2 separate regions of the Homo sapiens genome follow, and region 2 is linked to region 1. Evidence: promoter capture Hi-C in human tissues and cell types (Jung and others, 2019). All regions are on one chromosome and are shown on one strand. Each heading gives the region's core, a stretch centred on a gene start or on the middle of the fragment in contact. The rest is flanking DNA. Distances are from core to core; before and after follow the strand shown. Region 1 holds the start of CDH16 (cadherin 16). Region 2 overlaps CBFB (core-binding factor subunit beta).

Region 1 (3,226 bases), core at 90-2,589:
CACTTATTGACTGTGTGACCCTAGGCAAACCACTCAGCTTCTCTGTGCCCCAGCATGTGCCCAATGCCCCTTCAGAACGCAGTATGTGGCATAATGAAGGTATGTGCTCAGAGCAGTGCTGGGCACAGAGCAGGAGCTTAACACGTGTGAAACCCCCTTCAACCTCCCCACACTACACTGCTCCAGGCTGGGTGCCAGAGTGACCCTGAAGCAGGCACTCAGCTTGTGACAAGGCTGGGGGCAGCTGGGGGTAGCTTCTGGCCTGAGAGAGACTAATCAGATGTACAGTGGGAAGGACTTCGTGGGGACCATGGGAAGCTCCAAGGCTGGAGAGGGACTGGAGACCTTCTTCCCACCCTCTCCCCTCATTCCAGACTCCCAGGCCCCAGAAGCATCTCCTGGCTCTGCTTGGCTGCCCTCATTGCGGGGAGAGCCCCTGTTCAGCCCTGCAACTCCCTCAAGGTCACCTGAGCCAGTTTAATCTTCTTAGGGGCATGAGACTGCCCACTGTCTCAGCCCTGTCACTGTTGAGTGGCCAGTGTAAGGACTTCGGGAGCTCATAGGCTGCTGCACTCCCCCACCACAGGTCCCCCTGGGGGGGGTGGTCTGGAGCCCCAATACCCACTTCCACTCATGTACTGCTCACCCATCCTTTGCAACCTCCAGCTCCTTGTCTTAGTTCCACAAGCCATGCGGAGCTGCCAGGGCAGAATGAGAGCCAGGTCATTCCTGAGTCCCTGAGTTCTGCTCTCAAAGGGCTCCCAATCTAATGGAAGAGGCAGACAATGACAAGCTGGTGTCCTCTGTGTATTAATAGAGATAGCACATGGCATGGTGTGAGGGGGAGGGGCATTCCCAGAGGAGGCTCCTGAACAAGCCTGGGAACATAGGGGAAGTTTCCTGGAAAAAGGAATATTTGAGCTGAGCACTGAAGCATGCATGAGCAGGTGCTTACCACACAGATGAATGAGTGGGAAGGGTGTTCCATGCAAAAGGAACAGAGTGTGAAAAGGTGTGGCTGCAGACACTGGAGCCTGGGAGATAAGTCAGACCAAGTCTGGAGCCACAGAAAAAGTAACGTCCAGAACCAGAGGGCCAAGGAATACCTCCTGGGCTGTGCTGGGGTCGAGGGAGTGCCAGGCCAACCATCTCCCCACCTCCTGGAGCTGGCAGTCACGGATGCTGAGCAGCTCCTGGCTTTCCAAAGTCAATGAGTAACTTGGGGGGCTGGGCGGGGCCAGGCCTGCTGCTGTGGGCCCAGTGGCCTTTTCCACTCCTGAGCAAGCGTGGCTGAACCCTCCTACCTGCTCAAGTGCCCTGCCTTGCCCCACCCAGCCCAGCCTGGCCAGAGCCCCCTGGAGAAGGAGCTCTCTTCTTGCTTGGCAGCTGGACCAAGGGAGCCAGTCTTGGGCGCTGGAGGGTGAGGGGCTGGGAGTGGAGGGGAGGGCATGGCTGAGGCTGAGGTTGGTGGTGGGGAAAGGAGAAACACTGCCCTGTCCTCGCCATCTGGGAAAGAATTCCCAGGGCCTCATCTTAGAGGGGTTGTCGATTTGTCGCTGCTCTGCCTGCCCAGCTCCATGACAAGGGCTGGAAAATGATGAGACAAGGGCCGGGCTCCTGCTCCGGGGGTTCTCCTTGTCTAGAAGGTGGCAGTGGGAGGCAGGACAGTCCCAGAGGCCCTGAGCTAGGAGGACTCCTCCTGTGGTCAAGTCCTCTGTGACCTTGGCCAGACCCCAGCATTCAGGCCTTGCCTGCAACAAGAGGTGACTTCAGGAAGTGACCCTCCAAGTCTTCAGGAACTTTCCAGCTTCAAACTTTTGTGATTTGGGGGATTGCTAGAAAATTACCACTTTGGGATCTGCGGCCTGGGGAGGCTATGGTGAGAAGGAGCTGGAGGTCTGGAGGTGAAATTCTGATAGAGTGCTTGATGGACCAAGAGCCTAGAAGCAGGGTGGCTGGGCCTGGGGGCCTTGGTGGGCCTGGCCGAGGAGCAGGGCACTACCCTGCAGGAGATGGAGAGCCTCAGCTCCTTTGGAGGGGAGGAAGAGAAGACTAGTCTGCAGTACGATCCCACTAGTTGTGTGTGTGGGATGGAAAGCCCCTCCCTACCCACCTGGGCTGGATCCTCACTGCCGTGTCCCTCAGGCCTGTCCTGACCATGGTCCCTGCCTGGCTGTGGCTGCTTTGTGTCTCCGTCCCCCAGGTGAGCTAGGCCCTGCCCCCTCTCCTTCAGGTCTTGGCTTTGGGGGTTGACACCCTTGCCCCCAACTCCACCTGGACCAATTGCACTGACCGTGAGAACGGTGCAAGGCATGGGAGGGGTCAGAGCTGGGACTATAGAGCCACTGTGGGATGAGGAGGTCAAAGACCAGAGCGCGGGTGGATGGACTAAGGTACAGCCAGGCCCTGGGAAGGGGCGGAAATTCCGCTCTTCTGTTGGGTCTCAGTGCCCACGCAGGAAGATAGAGCCTGGTGACAAGGTGAGAATCCTCCCACAGGCTCTCCCCAAGGCCCAGCCTGCAGAGCTGTCTGTGGAAGTTCCAGAAAACTATGGTGGAAATTTCCCTTTATACCTGACCAAGGTGAGCCGGAGAGCTGGGGTTGGGGCCGGGGGGATCCCTCCCCGCAAAGTCCTGCTTCTCCTTCCTCTGGCACCCTTCCTCTTGCTGTTTCTCTTTGAAATCCTGCTTTCCAGAGAGTATGTACACGTTACACAGGTTGAGTGTCCCCTATCTGAAATGCTTGGGACCAGAAGTGTTTCAGATTTTGGATTTTTTTTTTTCTTCAGATTTTGGAATATTTGCATATATATCATGAGATATCTTGGGGAATGGAACCCAAATCTAGATAGGAAATTCATTTATGTTTCATATACATCTTATACACATAGCCTGAAGGTAACGTTATACATTTTTTTTTCTTTTGAGACGAAGTTTCGCTCTTGTCGCCCAGGCTGGAGTGCAGTAGCATGTTCTCAGCTCACTGCAACTTCCACGTCCTGGGTTCAAGAGATTCTCCTGCCTCAGCCTCCTGAGTAGCTGGGACTACAGGCATGCACCACCACTCCTGGCTAATTTTTTTTTTTTTTTTTTGTATTTTTAGTAGAGACAGGGTTTCGCCATGTTGGCCAGGCTGGTCTTGAACACCTCACCTCAGGTGAGCCGCCCGTCTTGGGCTCCCAAAGTGCTGGGATTACCACTTTGGGATTTGCGAGCTGGGGAGGCTA
Region 2 (3,318 bases), core at 476-2,975, 180 kb before region 1:
GTGGAATCTGCCCTTCTGGATTCATCTCACTGCTGCAGCCCCCTCTTTTCTGTTCCAGTCATACTCAGCTGCTCTTAGCTTCTCAAACTTGCCAAGCTATTGGCTAGCTACCTGCAATACCTTCTCTAGCTAGCTTAAGGTCTGCCATCCTTCAGATCTTAGCTCAAACATCTCTTTTTTTATTTTTGAGACGGAGTTTCACTCTTTCGCCCAGGCTGGAGTGCAGTGGTGCAATCTCGGCTCGCTGCAAGCTCCGCCTGCTGGGTGCATGCCATTCTCTTGCCTCAGCCTCCCAAGTAGCTGGGACTACAGGCGCCCGCCACCACGCCCAGCTAATTTTTTGTATTTTTTAGTAGAGACGGGGTTTCACCATGTTAGCCAGGATGGTCTTGATCTCCTGACCTTGTGATCCACCCGCCTCGGCCTCCCAAAGTGCTGGGATTACAGGCGTGAGCCACCGCACCCACCCTCAAAACATCTCTTTAGGGAAGCTTTTATTCACCACCCAGACTAGAATAGATGTACTATAAGAGCCAGTACTTCTAATGTAACTTAAACAGTGTTACTGCCTTTGGTCAGCTTTTTAGCTAGACTGTAGATTCCTTGTGAGCAGGGAACATGTTTATTTTGGACACTGGATATTTCCCCCCCTAAATGATAACCATACTTTTAGTCTCCAAAAAAAAAATAGAACTTCAACATTTTCCATTTTTATTTTTATAGGTAATATCTTGCTCTGGTGGCCCAGGATGGAGTGCGGTGGCAAGATCATAGCTCACTGCAACCTCAAAATCCTCGGCTCATGCGATCTTCCCACTCCAGCCTCCCAAGTAGCTGGGACTTAGAGGTGTGCACCACCATGCCTGGCTAATTAAGAAAAATATTTTTGTGCAGATGAAGGTCTTGCTATCTTGCCCAGGCTGGTCTTGAGCTCCTGGCCTCAAGCAATCCTCCTGCCTCAGCCCCCCAAAGTGCTGGGATTACAGATATGAGCTACTGTGCCTGGCCTTTTATTTTTATCTACAACATCTCCTCAACATTTCTGAAATCTGAATGAGGCCAATAACGACCTTAATTCTAAGTTGCTTAAATTTTCTAACCAAAAGCTGGGAGTTGACTAAAACAGTGACTTATCTGTTTCAGAATATTCCATATTTAAACAAACTAAACTGCCATTTCCATCCATGATTTCACCCTGTGACTGTCATTTTTTAGCTTTGGAACATTTCTGAAATGCCATATATGAATATATGATGGTGATGCAAGAAAAGGGGTTGATGCTATCTAGGGGGAATCATGTATTCAAATCTGCAAGACTGAAATCTTACCTTTAAAGAATGTTTAGATTAAAACACCAAAGGTATCTTTTTTTTTTGAGATGGAGTCTCGCCCTGTTGCCCAGGCTGGAGTGCAGTGGTGCGATCTTGGCTCACTGCAAGCTCCACCTCCTGGGTTCGCACCATTCTCCTGCCTCAGCCTCCCGAGTAGCTGGGACTACAGGCGCCCGCCACCACACCCGTCTAATTTTTTGTATTTTTAGTAGAGACGGGGTTTCACCGTTAACCAGGATGGTCTCGATCTCCTGACCTCATGATCTGCCTGCCTCGGCCTCCCAAAGTGCTGGGATTACAGGTGTGAGCCACCGCGCCCGGCAAAACACCAAAGGTATCTTATACTCAGTTACGTATATTTGGTAATATCACCATGGTGGTTTAGAAAGATGTCCACAAATGCTTTGACATCCCCGCCTTCAACAGATGAAGCTTAATATTCCTCCCCCTTTGAGTGTGGACCAGACCCAGTGACTTGATTCTAACATACAATATGGCAGCCCAAGATTCAGTTCTAAGACTGTGCTTTTGGCTGGGCATGGTGGCTCACACCTGTAATCTCAGCACTTTGGGATGCCGAGGCGGACGAATCACTTGAGGTCAGGAATTTGAGACCAGCCTGGCCAACATGGTGAAACCCCGTCTCTATGAAAAATACAAAAATTAGCCGGGCATGTTGATGGGCACCTGTAATCCCAGCTACGTGGGAGGCTGAGGCAGGAGAATCGCTTGAACCCGGGAGGGGGAGGTTGCAGTGAGCTGAGATTGCAGCACTGCAGTCCAGTCAGTCTAGGCAACAGAGCGAGACTCCATCTCAAAAAAAAAAAAAAAAAAAAAAAAAAAAAGACTGTGCTTTCAACTTGGGTGTGCGCTCTCTTGGATCACTTGCCTTGGGGGAAGCCAGCTACCCTGCTGTGCACTGTCCTATGGAAAGACCCAGCTGGGCATGAAATGGAAGCAGGTCTCTGTCCAACATCTAGCAAGGAACATCTGCCTTTCATCTAGCAAGCTGCAAAGAACCGAGGCCAGTCAGTGACCACATTAGTGGGTTTGAAAGGGGATCTTTCATCCAGTCAATCCTTGAGATGACTGTAGCCCAGGATGACTCTAACCTTATGAGGAACTCTGAACCAGAACCATTGATCTTAGCTACTTCCAGATTTGTGACTCACCTGTGGGATAATACGTATTTATTGTTTTAAGCTGCTAAGTTTTGGGGTAATGTGTTATGGATAATACAATGGTTTATAGATTGAAAAGCTCCTCATTGCCAAATGAGGCATAAATCAAGTAAGATATTTTTCACCAAGCAGCCCCGAGCTAGCATATCCAATTATGTTTCTAGAAGTGATATACTTACTAAAACCATGCTGTTACTGCTCAATTTTTTGAAATTAACTCTCAGAGCATGAATCCTACTCTTTGGAATTTCCCTTAATGGTGTCAATTCAGAATTTAAAGGCATTTTTGTCATTTGCAGTAAGTCTTGTGGTTAATGAGTGAATCTGTTTATCATGTGTCAAGCTTAAGGCATACTTTCAAGGAAAAGGGCTTACTTTTCTGTTGTAGGAAAATGCCAGGAGTCTTAAGAATGTTTGATATAACACCAGCACAATCAAAACGGCTGTATATTTCCAAAACAACTAGCTTGAAAGATGGAACTAATTTGGATGTGTAATTTAAAATTCTTTCTCCCAACATCACTACTTTATGGTCATATCTCACAGGATGGGTAAATCAAGCCAGATTTCTTGAAAACCATAATATACACTGGGGGATTTGTATACCTTGTGATACCTATATTTAAAGTAGTCTTCTTTGGAATCAACAGAAATTACCACTAGATGCCACTGTTGTTGCTTTCTTAGAAATTACTGGGTTAGGTCAAGAAAGAGCCAAGACCCTGTTTTTACTACACAGAAGTTTATTGTGAAAGTAAATTAAACAAACAAACACACAGTATGGCCAATGGTGGCAAAAGCAATCT

What was found. Contacts are between HindIII fragments. The study calls those that stand out against the background at their distance.
Region 2: a fragment that was not itself captured here is called in contact with the fragment with the promoter of CDH16 in region 1 in 2 of the 25 tissues and cell types used here (dorsolateral prefrontal cortex and mesendoderm cells).

Annotation. Positions count from the first base shown.
Region 1 is chr16:66,916,998-66,920,223 of GRCh38, reverse strand. It overlaps CDH16 (cadherin 16), which reads left to right and starts at 1,339. Exons shown (of 18, transcript NM_004062.4): 1 at 1,339-1,420; 2 at 2,146-2,203; 3 at 2,499-2,582. The coding sequence starts at 2,159. The HindIII fragment of the contact is 12,408 bases long and covers 1-3,226 here.
Region 2 is chr16:67,100,978-67,104,295 of GRCh38, reverse strand. It overlaps CBFB (core-binding factor subunit beta), which reads right to left. Exons shown (of 6, transcript NM_022845.3): 6 at 3,238-3,318. Among named protein-coding and RNA genes, the nearest start is that of PHAF1, 7.3 kb to the left of the region's middle. The HindIII fragment of the contact is 4,683 bases long and covers 1-3,318 here.